Linked DNA regions of Homo sapiens: region 1 is linked to region 2. Evidence: promoter capture Hi-C in 16 types of primary human blood cells and fetal thymus (Javierre and others, 2016). All regions are on one chromosome and are shown on one strand. Each heading gives the region's core, a stretch centred on a gene start or on the middle of the fragment in contact. The rest is flanking DNA. Distances are from core to core; before and after follow the strand shown.

The links. Contacts are between HindIII fragments. The CHiCAGO score rates a contact against its expected background, and 5 or more counts as called.
Region 1: a contact is called between a fragment that was not itself captured here and the fragment with the promoter of SH3GL2 in region 2, in 1 of 17 cell types (endothelial precursors). The highest score is 5.2, in endothelial precursors.

What each region holds. Positions count from the first base shown.
Region 1 is chr9:18,189,220-18,195,017 of GRCh38, reverse strand. It overlaps a transcript of ADAMTSL1 not described here. Among named protein-coding and RNA genes, the nearest start is that of ADAMTSL1, 280 kb to the left of the region's middle. The HindIII fragment of the contact is 1,040 bases long and covers 3,251-4,290 here.
Region 2 is chr9:17,576,354-17,581,634 of GRCh38, reverse strand. It overlaps SH3GL2 (SH3 domain containing GRB2 like 2, endophilin A1), which reads right to left and starts at 2,569. Exons shown (of 9, transcript NM_003026.5): 1 at 2,348-2,569. The coding sequence starts at 2,392. RefSeq lists a silencer at 3,559-3,757. The HindIII fragment of the contact is 3,241 bases long and covers 750-3,990 here.

The DNA.
Region 1 (5,798 bases), core at 2,521-5,020, 610 kb before region 2:
AGGACTGATTACTAGTCTTTCATGCATTCTTAAACTGGGCATTATGAAGAGGTAGCAATGCCATTTTTTGGAGAAGCTAATAACTTCTGAAAAGATGTATCTTGTGTGTCACCCACTCCTTGGTGTCAAGTACCTTAATCAAAGGATAGTCACAGCAAATGCAGACTTGGCCAGGAATAAAGGCGGGACAACTTGGAGAATGTGGGTGTACAGAAAGTCTAGGCAGGCTTGAGGGAAGGAGGAGGAAAAAGAAGAGAAGCAGGACAGGGGAGCACTGCTTCTCCTCTGCCATTTTGGTTCCAGCACTGGGGTTCTACAAATATCAATTTGTACAGTCCTAGACCCTGGGCCACGAGGCATATACACTGCTGGGACTGTTGAAAAAGCAAGAAGAAAAAGATGCTGGAGGGTGACCTCTGCAGCAAGAAAGCAAGATTCTTGCTCTTAGGAATCTCAACTCATTCTCCCTGAAGAGAATGCTTTCTATGACTTCATCAAGCTGGAATGGGAAAGCAAGACGGGTTAACATTGTTACTGGCACAACTAGGAGGACCAGCGCAGGGGACCATGAGATACAGGGGTCAGAGAGAGACAGCAGTGCCCTTGGAGGGTGCATGTTGCTTTTGTTAAATTTCTGTCCTCTTCATTTTCTGCTATAATAATCATGTGTTCCCCTGTCAACTTTCTCAATGTCTTCTCTACTGGTGTCTTCCTTTCTGCCTGTAAATATGTTCAAATCTCTTATTTAAAAAAATAACTTGACTTAGCCACTTTTTTATTCTCAGGGTTTAATATGCTTTTTTCTCCCCCCACGGTCAAAGGAGGAGACTAAGGTCATCACTTTAGCACTGAGTTCAAACAAATGCTCTTCTTTTTTTCTTCCTACACATCCTACTTCTCAGAACCCTATTTTTTTTCCAGTTACAGTTTCACTATCACTCCAACTGTCCTCTTCAGTAGGTTTATCAGTCACATTTCTCCCCGCCAAATTCAATAGCTCTTTTCTGCTATCATCATGGTTGTTATTATTACCTACAACAAAAAGAAGCTACTAAATAGCACTAAATTAGTATATGTATACAGTGGAGAATTGTAATGCATTTTGCCCATCCTTACAAGAAAATCTGATAAAACATGAGTGTGTGCAAACAATTTTAATACAGGGATTCAAATAATAAGGGACTGGGAGGATAAAGAAAAGGGCAGTCAGTCTTTGCCCCAAAAAACCCTAGGTTTATGGCATAGAGAGATCTGCTTCTCAAAGTCCATACAGGGACCCAGTGAAAGGAAAATTATGTGGCTATGGGAGTAGGCTGTCCAAACAGACGGCCTGTCCTTTCCCTTTTGATGAGTGTGACAAATTGTAGTTCTATTTTTCCTTCCATTTCCCCATTATCTCTTTTATTCTATTTTCCTCTCTTCCTTTCATGTCCTCACATCTGGATTTGGACATCAAAGCAATCTCTGAAATTTAATAGATAAAGGAAAAAGAGTGGGGAGGGAGAGAACCAGAGGAAGAGAGAGAGAGCCAGAAGAGGAGAGAAAGGCTTCTTCCAAGGCAAAGGAGCTTTTCTGAACAGCTCCATTGCTAGCAGAGGCACCATGGATCCTACTGTAACTGTTCCCGATTCCTCCTCTTCCCCTGCATATTCCATGTTATCATGTCCTCCCACTGTGGCTGCCATAAACATAATTTCTATATGATTCTTCCCCATTCCTAGTCAACTTGCATTCTATGTTGATCTCACCACTCCCAGGGTCATCTTTTCAAAACGATTTGAATCTTATAGTGACTTGACACACCTGTAGTGATTCTTGAGTTTGAATACAATCTTGAAAGTTATTTGAATCTGCTGGGGATGAGTTCTGAGAGGAATGGGAAACCCAAACAAGAGCAGCTTTATTTATTTATTTAGCCCAACCAAAAAAACCTGGAAAAGGAAATCTAGATCTAATACATTGACTCCATGGTCACTCATCACACTCTTAATGTCTTCAGCACATTTTTTTTGAAGTATTCCTTATATCGTTTATTTCTCTGGTTAGATAGTTCCTGTGTATATTATATATAAAGTTAAAATAGGAATTGCAGCAAGCAGAAATGATCTACTTTTAAAGTATATGTTTCATACAGTGCTTGCAATAAGCTGCTCAATAAATGCATATTGCATAAATAAAACCTACTAGGAATAGGGATATGAAAATACTCTAAGTTGGCCAGTCTTTTCTTTCATTCTCTAAAACCATGCATTGTATATTTTTGGTTTTGCACTTTTTTCTGTATTAATTCTTCTTATAAACAGTACTGTAAATGTTTTTTGAGTCTAGTAAAAGTGTAGTACTGAATATTTGCTAGGTGATCCAAAAATTATCCAGTAAAAGAAATTTAGAAATGTCTTCTCCAAAAATCATGGTTCAGTACCATGGAAAAACACTGGAGAATACTGTAGCTTCCAAAATATTATTAATTTTTTCCAAAGCCATTTTGACAATTAAATCATGGAAAGGTTCAGCAAGCTTAATACTCCACTCAACATTAGACACATATGGTAGGACGAATTTCTGAACAGCCCCATGATAGGCTCAAGTTGTGTTACATTTGATCTGTTTATAATCATAATCTAGAGAGTCAATTTGATATGACTTCTTTAGGGGATTTGAAGAAACTGAAATATAAGGAGATTTTGCCCAGGACAGAGAGCAACTTAATTTAGAATTTAGCCTTCCTGACATGCTCTAAGTGGTGATGTTTTCAATATCAAACAAAGTCTTAGGAAATAAATCTTTCATAGAAACACCATTATTGATTTATTGAAGCATAGAAGGATGAAATATAATAAGTCATTGCAAGAGTAGAAAGGTCAGCAACAAAGAATCCAAATATTCCTATTAGAAAAGTTAAATGGACTTAATTAATTTTAAGCATGAAGATAGCAACATGAGAAAATGACCATGAAATGTACCACTTTTAGGAAAGAATACCATCAATGTCAAACACCGTAACGATCATACCCAGTGTATTTCATTACAAGAAGATCTTAATTGCACTTATCAGAGGGCCAGTTACACAATTATAATTAAAGTAACAATAAGGTTTTCATTGCAAGATTCTAAGAATCCCTTTTATTACTCTCTTTTTCAAAGGCTCCCTTCAAGTGTTGTATTGTAACTTCATGAAATGGAGAGAGAATATGGGCATAACAAAATATTTTGAGAAATAAAGTAAGACAAGTCACTGGAATAATAAGCTTCACAAAGCCCTCTAAGAATTGATGCCAGTTACCACAATTATTTGCAGTCTTAAGTGATATACTAATAATCGGGCCTGGAAATTTGTGGAAGTTGGGCATCCATGCTGGCAACTGTGAACTTTAAGCTGGTAATTAGATTCAGGGAAGAAGTCTTCTTGCCAAGGCCAGAGCCTTTAAGGAACCTTCTTGGGTTCAGGGATCTGAGGCTCAGCTAAGGGCTCAGGTCCTGTCCAAGGTAACAGGCCACTTTCATTAGGCTGTAGGCTGAACTTGTGAGGTTCCTTCTCTGACGTTTATGCCTCCATGGATTGAAGAAGAAAGTGGCTTAGTGTGGTTGGTCTCTGTCGCCTGAGATGCCATCAGTCTCCCAGTTTCCTCTCTGGGCCTCCCAGTCAATGCAGGGCCTGTCCTCCTCAGTCTCAAGGGTTGAGGGTGGCTGGACAAGACAGGAGCTCTGGAGTGCTGAAGCACATCAACAGAAGCTCCTACTAGCAATTTTTCAGAGGGTGCATAGGAACAGGGGAAGGTCAAGCAGCCAGTTTCTTCTTTCCCTGACCCCTATCCCCGGGACCAGATGACTGCCTGGCAAGCAGCCACCCATACAAACTATCTAGGCCTGCTCATAAGCATTCCAGTCTGAACCCAGTCCTCAACTGGCACCTGCCAGCAGAAATATATGACCTAAATATTTCTTTTGGAGTCCTCTGCTGTTCCCTTTACCACTGTAAAAACAATTATGAGAGGATAATTTTCATCTGCTTACTTGTAACATCATTCTAGATTTCTTGTGGAAATTTGGATTATTTTGACACCTGTAGGCCAGTTAACAAGAAAACAAGTAGGTTCATGTGCCCTAGGGGTACGATGGAGCAAAACCCACTTCTCTGGAATGGCAAAGACATAGCGCCACTTATTGGTGGGTGGTCAGAACTGGTCTTTCCAGTCTTGTCATGGAATTTATGAACACTGATGGGAAGAACCAGCAGTTTGTTAAGCCAAGGAGAATGGTTATCAAATGGACGGGAGCAAACAATAAGCTTAATACTTAAAAATTAATATGCAATAATTATTTTAGTCAAATTTTTAGTCACATTTCAAACAACAGTTATAATTCTTCAGCAGGATTTATTTAATGGGTTCAAATTTGGAGAAAGCTGCTGTTAGACTCAGTGCGAGAAATCAATGCTTATCTTGTAAATAGCTGAATTATCTCCCAGTTTGGGAACAATCAATAAAAGCCTGGCTTGAAATCGGGTTGAAATAGGCACTCTGATTAACAAAATAAAGGACATAATTCAGACAAGCATAATAAGAGTCCTCTGTTTAAAGTACAAGAGTGTGCTGGTCACAATGACAGTTCCTAATCTCTCCCACTGAAAAGTGACTTCCATGGAATAAAGTCAGCTTAGATGGATTTTCCATTTAAATGGTCAAGGATTAAAAAGAGTTGGTTGGACAAGCGTAACTCATTCATATAACATTCCACTTAAAATACACACACACATCATGATATCCTTATGAAAATAAGCTGTCTTCTTAGTTGCTGGAATTTGAAAGCAAAAGCTGACACTAAACCATTTTGATTAATCTATGACATAGTTGGAGGACTATGCTACACTTCATTCCCCTGAATTTCTGAGCTTCTGTGACTATTGTATCACATTATGCAATGTGCAGTGCTGGATCCCCTTAGAGGTTACTTATACAAAAACATACATTTCATTTGAAACCTGACCAGGCTCATTCTTGTTCTAGATAGATTCATTATGACAACCTTTAATTGGGCAAACTGCCAAAAAGCAGCCAGTTTAACAGGCTCTTTTAAAATGCAGCACACAGACTAATATGCTTATTTGACTTACTTGTTGAGAATGACTTATTGAATAATACATGCTAGAGTACAAAAACCTTTCAAAAGGTAGTTCTCAGAGAGTTTAAAAGTCCACAGAACTGGCCAGCATAAAAGAAAGAAACTTGAGGAGTTTTTTTTAAAAAAACATATCTTGCCAAACACAGTTCTATAATAGAGTGGAAGACATGTATAATGGTGGGAGCTGAAGGAGTTAATTTCCTAGTAAAAATTAGTTGCTATCAGGCTTTTACCCTATACAGTTGCAGGGAGCTCCATGGATGAGGAATAAGAAGGGCATACATATTTCAAACTATGACATATCTGTAACTTTTAAGTTTTATTTATTTATTTAATTTTACCAAATTGGGGGTGGAAAAGGGCGTTAAATCTTGCCCTCTGGAATATATAAAAAGGCTTCTTAGGTTTGTAGGAACTGGCCTGATATAAGAATTTGTATTTGCTTGCTAGTTGTCTTGAGAAAAATCTTATACAGACACCACATAGCCTTCTATAGAACCAGCTTAGATCAACTGGGAAGTCTGCTGCTTTGTGAATGACAATGGTAAAATTTATCTAATACTTAAGGTTTTTTAATTAATGAAATTAACTCAAACAAATTTGCAGTGTGACTATCCACAGCCATTTTGAGAGCAAATTTTCTCTACGATCTCAATTAGAACAATGTTCTCATGCAT
Region 2 (5,281 bases), core at 1,320-3,819:
GTCTAAAGCTTCTCTGTAGATAACATCAGGTTCACGGACCTGATGGAAAAAAATGGCTACAAAAGTAGGACAGGACTATTTCTCTAATTTTTTTGTCACATGCAAACATTAACATGGGCTTTACATACTCTCCTAAATATACATATGCACAGAACAGTCACCTGTGCCTTAGACTTTCTAAGAGTGTGCTACACTAAATTATGGATAAGAGACTACGTGCTGCTTCACCTTTCAAATAAAAGGCTTTTCAGTAAAAGGAAGACAATGACGCAGTGATTCTGCATTTGGATTCGGTGTGATAAACATTAACCGTATCGCATCACATGCCGACCTTCTCCAACCTTTTAAGTTCTTTCCTAACGCAGTTTAAATTATTTTTTCTACACTTTAGGGCGACACAGAACTTCAAGATTTAGCGGAAATGGAGCGCTCTATTTTTTAAGTTGGAAAAACTAAAAGGTCTAGCTTGGGTAACTTCTTCACAGCATAAGGGATAGTATTTTATACTAATAAAAATATCCTTTATGTCAATAACTATAATTTATTGAACACTTTATACGTGTGTTCTACACACTCGTTTCTCTTCACCTCAACCCTGAAGAGACAACGGAAATTATCATCACTTCAGCATGGACAGGTTCAGAAGTTAAATACTCTCTCAAGGTCAGAAGCAGCAGAGGCAGGATTCAAACCTTAGCCTTTCCCACTCCAAAGCCAAGACTCTTAATTGCCTTTGAGGGCACTAAGCTTTGCAAAAGAAATCTTTAGAATCCAAGTGGAAAAAAGATGTGTTGGTAAACGCAGTGCTGAGATATGCTATAGAGAAGTGACCAGTAGAGCAATCAAAAAGGTTAGTAATATCGAAGAAGTCCTGCCACAGAATTCCTGGGCAGCACATATGCTTGGTTCTGTAAACCTGAAAGAACTTGCAGTATAAAGTTATTAGAAGCCTTCCAAACTACATCAACAAACAAATCACTTACTTTCATAAACATGTCTGGCAGAGAGGTCACAGATAACTCCAATTATAATAGAAAAGCAAAAATAATTACATTAAGAAACATTTTTACAGAAATAGTCTTACTTTTCTTGATTTCCTAAGTTGACAGGTATAATTGATTCTATAAAGGCAAGAATGTGTGATGAAGATGATGCAGATGCGTGCAAACACACACACGACGGGAATTACATGCTGCATCTGTCACCCTAAGTTAACCAAGGTTCTGTAAAACACAACCCTCACCTTTTCTGGATGTGGTTCATAACAAGGCTGCCACTGTGGTAGCCTAGGAAAAACCTCACTACTTCCGAGAAATTATGAGAAAGCTCGTTAATTAAGGCTAACCTATGAAAAACTATTTAACACCAAATCATGAAAAACATTTCGCGGTAAGTCATCAAAATCCTTAAAGATCCCATAAATTTGAACCTATTTCAGAAGGATAAAAAAGTAGTAATCACACACATTATGTAAGAAATAGGTCACAGCGTAAGTATTCGCTTACTTGCCCCTATGTAAAATTCTTTGAGTCCAATGATTTTAATTATTAGAATCTAAATTAATCAGTTTTATTACAGTCACAGCTTATTAACCCCATAAAGAAAAATGGGCACATCCAAGATGCCAAAGATTTATTAAAAACAATTTAAAATACATGATGATTTTAAGTCTTCAACAATTTGGTTGTTTTAGGGAAATATTTAAGACCCGCAGACTGTTTGTCATGCCCTGGCCTCAAAGGAGTTTCACGACCGAGTTCTCCAGGTAAAAGTTAATGTATGCGGGTCCCTAAAGGAAGACCCCAGCCTTCCATTCCCCTGGAGCCTGCGGGCGGCGGGGAAGGAGGGTTCTGACAACAGGGTAAGGGAGAGGAGCGCAAACCGCCGGCCTCCGCCCCGCCACCCCCAGTGCGGCCACCGCTCATGCCAACACATCCCGGGAAAGCCGGGTGCACCGACTCCGCAAGGTCACCCGTGAAGAGGCGACTTTACATAATCTCCCACCGCGCCGCCAAGGCACCTGCGCGCCGCGGCAGCAGTGCAGCCGCGGTCCCCTTCCTGCAGCACGGGCGCGAGATGATGCGGGGGCGGCGAGCAGCGCTACCAGGCAGGACGCCGGGGACCCGCGGGAAGGCAGCGCGCACCAAGCCGGGGGCGGGGGACCGAGGGTGGACGCCCAGACCGGGGATGCCCCGAGCCGCCGCCTTGGCTTGCGAGGCGGGGCGCGGCCGGCGCGGGCGAGGCTCGGTGCCGAACTCCCCAAGCTGCCGCCGGACGGCCAGCGCCGAGCGCGCCCCTCGCAGCTTCGCCCCGGACTGCCCCGGGACGCACCTGCCGCGCGCCTTACCTGAGTGGCTTTATGGAACTGCTTCTTGAGGCCGGCCACCGACATGGTGCAGGAGGCCGCGCTGGCGGCTGCTGTGCGGGAGGGAGGAGGCGGAGGGGGACTGGAGGGCCGAGCGGGGCGGCGCGCTCCCCTGGCCGCCTCTGGTCGTGCCGCCGCCGGGGCTATGGGCGCGAGGGCGCGGAGCCTAGCGGGACACGGGCTCTTGCGGAGAAACACTCTGACGTCAAGGGCGGGTGATGCGGCCTCTTAAAGGGGACGCGGGAAGCCCCGCCCCAAGCGCGGGAACGCCCAGGCAGGTGCTGTGGCGCGCGGTACCTGGATGCTGGCGCCAACTGCGGGGATGTGGCTCAGCGGCACCCGCTGGCGGATCCCTAGTCAGCGGGCCGAGGACGTCCTCCTGTCCCGGGGTTGGTGTTCCTGCCCCCGGGGGCTGCGGACGGGTCGCTGCAGATTGGCAGCCCAGGCACCCGCAGGACTCAGGTGACTTGCTGGGCTTCCAGGTAGCCGCGGCGGCGCTGCCTGCAGACGGCCCTCCTGCCCTTTGAGCCTGGCGTCTCTGCGCCGCAGCCTGAAAAAGACTGGCCTTCTATCTGGGCTAATGAATAAGTCATTGCTCCTTCTATGCCTTGCCCTGACTGGTGGGTCACAGAAAACATTTCTCTGCCCTGGTTTCAATATCCCTTAAGCCCATCTTACCTTAGGGAAAGTCACACACGCGTTTTCCCCCTTGTCTGATACAATTTAATGACTTAAAAAGAAGAACAGGAACCCTTAAGCCTGGACGGATAAATAGAATTGAAGTCTTACTACAAAACTAGCGTTCAATCCTCTGGTTACAGAAATGAAAAAGCCCAAATGTGATCTTGTTGTTATGCTTGTGGATTTAGGGTTTCCGGTCCGATAAAAATCAAAATATAATGTGAAAAAGCATGATACTAAGTTATATACAGATGCTTCATATGTAACCAAGGAGGTATGGCTGGCTAAAGTGAAACTAATAGATGACTTGGGAGCAGAGCAGCACTAAATGCCTTCTGTGCTCTGGTACTTAACCAAGTCTGGTTTTTCTAGGACTGAGGAGGTGGTCAGAAAGAACTTAGACGCTGTCCCCGTATGTGGACCAAAGTGATAAGAAGGAGAAGCCAAGATGGGAGAAATTGCCAAGGATGTGTAGAGACTGCAAGGCCAAATGGGAGTCCTAGAAATACTTTTTCTGTCTCCGCAACTCCTGCAGCCTGATAGGAGCCACAGACCCATCCCCACTCTTCTAGGCACTGCGGCTTGGGCACAGGGTGAACACCTGCTACAAAAGGGTCCTCCATCCGTAGAGCTACCAGTCATGGTCCTTCTTGATAATGTGAACTGACACACACAAAGGCAGAGTCAAGCAGTGGTGGGCACTGGAGCAGTAGAGCGCATGGACTAGGGACGCAGGCTGCAAAGGGAGGCAGATGAAAGGAGCTATTCTCCAGTGTGGTAGCCCTTACCACTGTTCATATACCTTTCCCTACATGGCAGAATTGCACTTTCCAAACCTCTTGTTAAGTGGAGGCATGGTTACAAGTTTTGACTAGAGGTTTAAGAGGAAAAGTGACTGTCACTTCTGCAGCAGCAATATGAGATGTATGAGATGCCGCAAAGCTTTCTTTTCCTCGGCCGCAATATTCTAGAAAGCTGTGGTCTGTCAGCCAGTATCCAGAGTGAGACTAAAGCAGTGCAGAGTCCCCACCTGACGTTCAATGGGCATGTAGCATCAGTGAGAAACCTGAGTAATTTTAATCCACTGAGGCTCCGGTTGTTAGGAATAAACTTTTTTCTCTATGTTTCCAATTTTTAAAAAGGCTACCCATTACTTGCATAATAGAAAAAAAAGTATTTTATAGTTAATTTTTACTACCAGGTCCCTGATCTGAACAATAAAGCATTTTCATAAGACAGGGCTTTGTTGAAGCTGCCAAAAGATAGAGCAATTGATCTACAAAGTGGAAGGGCCTGGGATGGATAGGAGCTCTGCTCTCTAACAGTGAAAGGTGTGAAATGGGGGCCTGAATTGCCTCCTTGGAACTTTGAATACTTAACTGAGCCCTACATTATAAAAAAGGCAGTTTCTATCTTTCCCTGGTTCTTCATCCACCAACCTGGAAGTCTCATGCTGCTTAACTTCAAAGAAACTACCTTGGGAGAAAAAAACTACTTAAGGGCATTACATTAAATCCTTTGGAAACCATTGATTTAGTCGCCCAGGCATCCTCTGCACCTCATCTTATATGGTTTGGCTGTGTCCCCACCCAAATCTCATCTTGAATTGTAACTCTCACAATTCCCACGTGTCGTGGGAGGAACCCAGTGGGAGTGATTGAATTATGGGGGTGGGTCTTTCCTACACTGTTCTCGTGGTAGTGAATGAGTCTTACAAGATCTGATGGTTTTAAAAACAGGAGTGTCTAGTTCAACCATTGTGGAAGTCAGTGTGGCGATTCCTCAGGGATCTAGAACTAGAAATACCATTTGACCCAGCCATCCCATTACTGGGTATATACCCAAAGGACTATAAATCATGCTGCTATAAAGACACATGCACACGTATGTTTATTGCGGCATTATTCACAATAGCAAAGACTTGGAACCAACCCAAATGTCCAACAATGATAGACTGGATTAAGAAAATGTGGCACATATACACCATGGAATACTATGCAGCCATAAAAAATGATGAGTTCATGTCCTTTGTAGGGACATGGATGAAATTGGAAATCATCATTCTCAGTAAACTATCGCAAGAACAAAAAACCAAACACCGCATATTCTCACTCATAGGTGGGAATTGAACAATGAGATCACATGGACACAGGAAGGGGAACATCACACTCTGGGGACTGTTGTGGGGTGGGGGGAGGGGGGAGGGATAGCACTGGGAGATAAACCTAATGCTAG